2 separate regions of the Homo sapiens genome follow, and region 2 is linked to region 1. Evidence: promoter capture Hi-C in 16 types of primary human blood cells and fetal thymus (Javierre and others, 2016). All regions are on one chromosome and are shown on one strand. The core of a region is centred on a gene start or on the middle of the fragment in contact, and the rest is flanking DNA. Distances in the headings are between cores, read along the strand shown.

What was found. The method cuts DNA at HindIII sites, captures the fragments that hold promoters and counts their contacts. A CHiCAGO score of 5 or more calls a contact.
Region 2: a fragment that was not itself captured here is called in contact with the fragment with the promoter of ADAMTS5 in region 1 in 1 of 17 cell types (endothelial precursors); the score reaches 5.8 in endothelial precursors.

The regions. Positions count from the first base shown.
Region 1 is chr21:26,964,760-26,968,710 of GRCh38, reverse strand. ADAMTS5 (ADAM metallopeptidase with thrombospondin type 1 motif 5) reads left to right here and starts at 1,623. Exons shown (of 8, transcript NM_007038.5): 1 at 1,623-3,423. The coding sequence starts at 2,320. It overlaps LOC124905050, which reads left to right. Exons shown (of 3, transcript XM_047441063.1): 2 at 741-1,267; 3 at 1,627-2,055. The coding sequence ends at 2,055. The HindIII fragment of the contact is 6,499 bases long and covers 1-3,951 here.
Region 2 is chr21:27,691,291-27,695,241 of GRCh38, reverse strand. No RefSeq gene overlaps it. Among named protein-coding and RNA genes, the nearest start is that of LINC00113, 29 kb to the left of the region's middle. The HindIII fragment of the contact is 1,510 bases long and covers 998-2,507 here.

The sequences.
Region 1 (3,951 bases), core at 374-2,873:
CCAGTGATTTCTTTATTTATAAGTTAAAACAAGATGATACATCTGCCCCTCACAAGACTCCAGAGGGTGTTCCCAGGCACACGGCAATGGGTATTGTTGCCGGGCAATTCTGAAATTCCTTCCAGAGGATTATTGCCACTCTAAGAACCTCCATCAAGCTCTGGACCCTCATGGTTCCCTCCCAGAGAAAGCGATCAGCTTGGGGCCCCATTAAGGCACCCGCCCTGCTATCCCCAGCGTAGCCAAAGTTAAACGTAGAAAAAGATGGAAATGTACAAATTACACCACATTCATTTTTCACTGGTGCATTAGTTAATTAGCCTGAAGAATAATTTGGGCATGGAGGGAGCTCTTACCCCTACAGTAGAAGGTAGACCTTCTAACCATAAGTCGTCGGGTTTTCCTTCTCCCTTCTTAGAATGATAATTAGAGGAAACAAAGAGGTCAGAGGAAACGAGTAGCAGTGATAATGTCACCCGCGTACTAATAAGCACCAATCTTCCTTCCGCCAAAAGTATTCTTTTTCTTCTAAAAGGAATTTCTGAGAATGAAGGTAGGTCAAGGCCTATGGCGATAAGTGGTTGCTTTAGAAGAGACAAAAACAGATATAGGAATTTATTATTAAAGTATCATTTAAGCAAAAAATAAAAGTATGAGCGCAAAATTTTAAAATCTTTCAGGGAAAAAAAATGAGCGGAATTCCCTCTAAGAGTTAACTCTTTCTCGCTCTGCCTTTTTAGAGCAAAGGAAGTTCCAGTGGGCTGGGAGTAAGGGACAGATTGTGGACCCTGACGAAAGGCGTGCTGGAGAAAGCTGGGAGCCCGCCGTTCGCACACAAAGCTGCGGAGTTCCCAAGCGGCGGGCGTTCTCGCCCCGGGGTACCGCAGCGCGCCAGGAAGCGCCCTGGGCTCTCTGGCTGTCCAGCCGCTCTGCTGGTGGCCGGGAGAAGTTAGTCACCCGGAGCCCGAATCCGGCGAGCGTCAAAGCATCAAGAGGCTGGAGAATGGGGAGGGAGGAAACCGGGTGCCGGGACGGAGGGGAGGAAGCGAAGGGAACGCGGTGGTTAGGGGACGCACGGGAAGCTGAAAAGCTCTGGCTGGTGGATGGAGTTGCACGGTCTGCGAGGCCAGAGCGCACGGGTGTGCAAAGGGGAAAAACTTGCGGCAGGAACTTCCCACCGAGGGCGAGAAAAGCAGGCAAGAAGGAGGCAGGGAGAGACTTGAAACGTCTCAATAACTTTAACCAAAACACCCGTTCAGGAGATGAGGTAAGCCAAGGTTAGCCAACCCCAATTGGTTGTGAAATATCAGACAGACCCGGAGCCGCTGTGGCTTTAAAAGTGGCCAAGGAAATCTGTTTTTCTTGCCCCATTACTTTTTATTTTCCCCTCTCCCCTCCTACCACCTCGCCGGGTCCCAGTCCCTTCCTCCTACTTCGTCTCCCTTTCCTCGATCACCCTCCTCTTTTGCCCTCCCCCATCTGATTAGGCGCGGACTGGGAAGGGTGGGAGTGGTGGGGGAAGCTCTCCCTTTAAGAGGCAGCGTGCAGTGACGAACTGTTGAAATTGCCATTGCAGGATGGCATGCCGCTATAAATTCATTGTTCCACCTCCTCGCATCTTCACAGCGCTCGCGCTGCTCTCGGCGCTCGCAGCTGCCGACTGGGGATGACGGCGGGCAGGAGGAGACCGCAGCCGAAGGGACACAGACACGCCGCTTCACCAGCTCGCCTCAGGCTGCCCCCCTGCATTTTTGTTTTAATTTTTACGGCTTTTTCCCCTCTCTTTCTTCCCTTCCTCCTGGTCCCAGCAGAGCCAAGGAAACCCACAAAATAAGAAAGGAAGTGGGCCCCGGAGCTTGGAACCTCCACAGCCGGCTTGTCCAGCGCAGCGCGGGGGCGGGAGGCTGCGCGCACCAGTTGCCAGCCCGGTGCGCGGTACCTTTCCTTACTTTTCTTGAAACAGCGATCGTGCCTGCATTTGGTGGTTTTTTGGTTTTTGTTTTTTTCCTTTTCCCGTATTTGCTGAATCTCCACTATCCGACTTTTTTTTTTTAATCTTTTCTTTCCCCCCCCCCCCACCCCACCTCTTTCTGGAGCACGAATCCAAACATTTTCCCAAGCAACAAAGAAAAGTTCGCACGCTGGCACCGCAGCCCGGACAGGCTGGCGCTGCTGCCGGGCCCCCCTCCCTCCGACACTTGACTCAATCCTGCAAGCAAGTGTGTGTGTGTCCCCATCCCCCGCCCCGTTAACTTCATAGCAAATAACAAATACCCATAAAGTCCCAGTCGCGCAGCCCCTCCCCGCGGGCAGCGCACTATGCTGCTCGGGTGGGCGTCCCTGCTGCTGTGCGCGTTCCGCCTGCCCCTGGCCGCGGTCGGCCCCGCCGCGACACCTGCCCAGGATAAAGCCGGGCAGCCTCCGACTGCTGCAGCAGCCGCCCAGCCCCGCCGGCGGCAGGGGGAGGAGGTGCAGGAGCGAGCCGAGCCTCCCGGCCACCCGCACCCCCTGGCGCAGCGGCGCAGGAGCAAGGGGCTGGTGCAGAACATCGACCAACTCTACTCCGGCGGCGGCAAGGTGGGCTACCTCGTCTACGCGGGCGGCCGGAGGTTCCTCTTGGACCTGGAGCGAGATGGTTCGGTGGGCATTGCTGGCTTCGTGCCCGCAGGAGGCGGGACGAGTGCGCCCTGGCGCCACCGGAGCCACTGCTTCTATCGGGGCACAGTGGACGGTAGTCCCCGCTCTCTGGCTGTCTTTGACCTCTGTGGGGGTCTCGACGGCTTCTTCGCGGTCAAGCACGCGCGCTACACCCTAAAGCCACTGCTGCGCGGACCCTGGGCGGAGGAAGAAAAGGGGCGCGTGTACGGGGATGGGTCCGCACGGATCCTGCACGTCTACACCCGCGAGGGCTTCAGCTTCGAGGCCCTGCCGCCGCGCGCCAGCTGCGAAACCCCCGCGTCCACACCGGAGGCCCACGAGCATGCTCCGGCGCACAGCAACCCGAGCGGACGCGCAGCACTGGCCTCGCAGCTCTTGGACCAGTCCGCTCTCTCGCCCGCTGGGGGCTCAGGACCGCAGACGTGGTGGCGGCGGCGGCGCCGCTCCATCTCCCGGGCCCGCCAGGTGGAGCTGCTTCTGGTGGCTGACGCGTCCATGGCGCGGTTGTATGGCCGGGGCCTGCAGCATTACCTGCTGACCCTGGCCTCCATCGCCAATAGGCTGTACAGCCATGCTAGCATCGAGAACCACATCCGCCTGGCCGTGGTGAAGGTGGTGGTGCTAGGCGACAAGGACAAGAGCCTGGAAGTGAGCAAGAACGCTGCCACCACACTCAAGAACTTTTGCAAGTGGCAGCACCAACACAACCAGCTGGGAGATGACCATGAGGAGCACTACGATGCAGCTATCCTGTTTACTCGGGAGGTAGGTCCAGCCGGGATGCGGGGGTCCCAGCGCTGATATCAGGAGGTAGGTAGAAGGGAATCTTGCTGGTGGCTTTGCTTCTCCCTCAAACCTCCTGCAGCTGTGGATGTGTTTAACTGCTTCTTGCAGGAAATCCAACCAGCCTTCAACTCTGCTCCTGTATTCACGTTAGCCCCGCAGAAATTTTTGCCTTAAATGCCAAGACTTGCTTAGGTGATGATGAAGACCCAGTAGTGCTGCATGTCATCTAGTCTGAGGTGTTGTGGCATAGGAACGTAAACATAAGAAGGCACAAGGATGCTTGGGGAAATGATACAGTTAAATGGGGAAAAGGAAGGAAAACAAAGTTGCCTTTGGGATCATGGGTCTTCTTCTTTCCAGTGAAAATAAAATATAACCTTGTCCCACCTAATGGAAAGGGCTGGATGGTTCACTCACGGTACTCACTGTTATCCGATGACCTTCTTTTGTAAGTGTCCACACCTTTTTACTAGAATCCCTTCTGTTACACAGAGGATGAGAAAACTT
Region 2 (3,951 bases), core at 503-3,002, 730 kb before region 1:
AGGAAGGACGGACGAGAGCTTCATAAAAATTTTCTGGTTTTAAAGTTATTTTATTTTTCTTAAAAATTTCTTTAAATAAATAGTCTGTTAGAGGTATTAATGTGTGTCACTCTTGCTTGGAATGAGGTTTATAAAGGGCACATGTTATTGTGTTTCTCTTCTGGGTAAAATTCTCTGATGATTCTCAGTTTCTGCAGGATAGAATCTTTGCCTGACACCGGGGTCCTTAGGTCGGATCCCTGCCTAGGTCTACAGCCTCATCTCCATTCACATTCCACTCCTCTTAGGCAGTGCATGTTTTATCTCTAAGTTCTTCCCAGCATCATCCTGGGAACTTTGAGTTTCACCAATTTTCCCTGGTGGAGAAACACCGTAAATGGGAATGCCGTGCAGACCTGAGATTATGTGACTCTACCATCAAGACTCAAAGGAGCTTTATTTGAAATAAAGGAGCTAGTGGTTGTGTGGGTGTAAATTAGATGATGTAATCTGTCAGCTCAGTTATTTTTATTCACCACTCTCTTAACACATTTCAGTTTTAAGGGGGGGAGTGGGTTCAACTATGTAAAGTCATTGCTTTTATTTTAGCCAATTCAGAATAGTAGACTTCTAAATCGGGAAAGATCTCAGAAGACTTTTTTTCTTTATAATTGAGATATTTGCTATTTGTGTTCTTTGGGTGGAAAAAATGATTTAATGACGCATTTTTATTTAAAAAAGTGCCATTTTATCTGTATAAGAGGAAGATGTGATTGAAGTGTTATTTTAACACTCCTTCTATTAAAATTATAAAAACATTATATAATATGCTTTTAAAAAGTAGTGAATAAATGTGGTTGTTATATGAACACAAATATGTAGGCAATCAGCATGTCATGAGAATTATTAAATAAATTAAAATATTTGCAATATAATTTACATAATTCAGCAGTTGTATGTTAATCACGTAGTTGTCAGAAATAACTTCATTTTTTAACTTTTGTTTGATGTTTAAGCTTTTGTTAGTCTAATTATTTTCACACTTTTCTTTCAATATTTCTAACTTCATAAATATTGATAAGTAAATTAAAATCAAATCCTCACATCTAGAAACTGCTGATAATTCAAACAAAATTATTTTTTTCACAAAAAAGTGTTTTAAAATGTCATTAACTCAGTTAAAAAATAGAACTACCAAGTTAGTTTATAAAATATGAATTAATATAATTATAAAAGTATAGTCTATGTCTTTATTTTTATTTTAGAGACTAATACCTTTTGTGTTATTAAATATAATTTCTGTTTTTTGCAATATCTCTGAACTCTCATGTCCCCCAGCAGCATACCCATCCCCCAACACCTACAAACAATGACAATAACCCTTTCCTGTACTCCAGTGAATTCGATGCCTTCGTAACACTAACTGATATCAAAGGAACAGGATTCCTCAAGTTGATCATGGTAGAAAAAAATTAGTTGAAAATTTAGGCACAAAAAATTCAAAACAGTTTCATCAGAATGTTTTTGTTTTCACTTCTTCGGGTACATAAGTGTCCCCTGTTCATTTTCAGTAATATCCACCAAACCAACGGCATCTCCTCTAAGTGAGGTCACCGCAGAAATCAAAAAACACACTACTAGCTTGTGAGGACTTGTCTGGATGGTTTTATTAGCAGGATGTGTCACTACCAACCCTTGGTCTGATGTGAAATTGAGTTTCGAAATGACACATATTTCCTGGATTCTCCAGTTAACCAGAGATTTCTTTCGGGCTTTCCCTTTTTTTTTCTCCCTTAGGCATCTGTAGAAGAAAGAAAAAAGCAAAGTACTCCAAAAGACTTAAAGAAGCAGAATCAATTGTCTAATTTTATTCGAAAGGTTTTCTCTCTGCTGTTCTCACTATCTCCAATAAGGTCTGCCCAGTTCTCCTAGTAAGGAAAACTGGCTGACAAATAGTGGGCCAGGGAAGAGCATTGGAAGGCCACCAAATGTTAGTTATTGCTCCAGGCGAGAAAGGCTAGCAGCGGTCTCAGCTGTAGCGGTATAAAGGAACAAGTGATGGGGATGGTTGGATGGTAACAGACCTATGGGACAATGGAAATATTAAACTGCTGGTAGACAATGATAAAATAAAACATTGTTATCTCTCTATGGTCAGAGAAAGAAGAGCTAAAAGGTTAATTACGGTCTCTTTGAGGGATGAATATGTATATGAAAATTACATAACTGTGGTCTATTGTCATATTTTTATGATTTTGTGACTTTTACTTATCTAAAAGGGGAATAGTTTGAAGCCAGACTTCTAAACGGTGAGTTCCTGATTTTTGCACTTTGAAGGAAATCAAAGTAGGCACCTGTTCACAAGGTAGCCATATGAATCCTTCCTTTCCCATTAGGATACTTTCTTTATCAGCATTACTTCTGCAGTAGGTCTTACTGCTACATTTACAAGTTTCTGGAATGAGGGTGGTATTCATGTAATTGAGCCAGTCTAATCCTTTTGGATTGATTTTTAAAAGCAATAAGCTTTTAAAGTCATGAAGGATTTATGAATCCTTCCTTTCTCATTAGGATACCTTATTTCTATTGAAACGTTATTTCAGAATAGCATGCCTCTCCTCATTTTCCCCAGCATCATCATACACACTCACATGCAAAGTGCTGCAACTTTAGTGGAGCAATAGAATAGAGAGCTACATGTGTGCTAAACTGCTTAGACAGAAGAGAAATTATTTGTACAGACAAGAGGCAGAGAGAAAGCCAACATCAGGACCATTTTCTGCCTCGGTAATCTACTCAGGTTACTTTATGCCTAAAGACAACGCCCAGGAGAGCAAACTGAAGCTCCAGCATGGATTCACTGGAGCCCCTGGTGACATGGACATGAAAGAAAAATGTAATTACTCAATCAGAAATTATATACTGGAAAATTCTGAAAAAAAACTGGCAAGTAAAAACAATGAAAAGCTGTTTATTTTACAGCTTTTTCTATATGCCCAATTAATGTGCTCGTAAAGGTAAGTGACACCTCTGCGTGATTGTCCAAAATGTATATTAAATTACTAGGTCATAGATTACACCTGTAGTGAGTCTTATTGCTAACCCTACAAGTTGCTGGAATGAAGGTGGTATTCATATAATTGAGCCAGTCTAATCTTTTTGGATTGATTTTTAAAAGCAATAGGAAATTAAAACATAATTATTTGTTGAAAAATTTTGAAAAAATTACAATGGCTAGAAATAAAGGAGAAGCATCACGTTTTTAGTCTTACTACCTTTGTAGGTGGGATATAACAAAATTTAAATAATATTTATCCACTTCATTAAGTTATTTATTGGTAACAAATTAGCACTGATGAGAAAGTTTTATGAACTCTTTATTCCTTAATAAGAGGTGACTCACTAGGTGTAAAAACAAATAATTAATTAACACCCACATACTACCACCCAGTTATAGTGAAAATTACAACGGTCCCTCTCATTTTTTCAAATTTTTCCCTACACTGGAAGGAAATTCCATGCATTGACTTGAAGATGAGTGTTATTCTAAAGAAAATTCTCAAGACAAATGCCAAGGAATCCTTTTGCAATTACTCTTTTCTTTTTCAATTTGCTTTTCAAGGGAACATCTGCCCTTACACCTCCCTCCACTTGTGATTCTAGAAATTAAGGATATATGATCAAACAATGTTTTGGAAAATAAGATAATTCTCAGGAGTCTATGATTACATAGTATGATAAGCTGTCTAGTAAATCTATCAGGATGAATTTCTTTGGAAATTTCCATGAAAACCTAAAATATGAAGTAATGGCATTAGCATACCCTTTAAATAAGTATTTCCTCACTTGTTAATTTCATTAAATGTTATATTCTCTGTGTGTTGAATTTATCTACTTTCTAACAGATTTGATATGTACTACAGTTAGGATTCTAAGTCCTGTGTCTGGGAAGACACCAAATGGTTAAGGGGG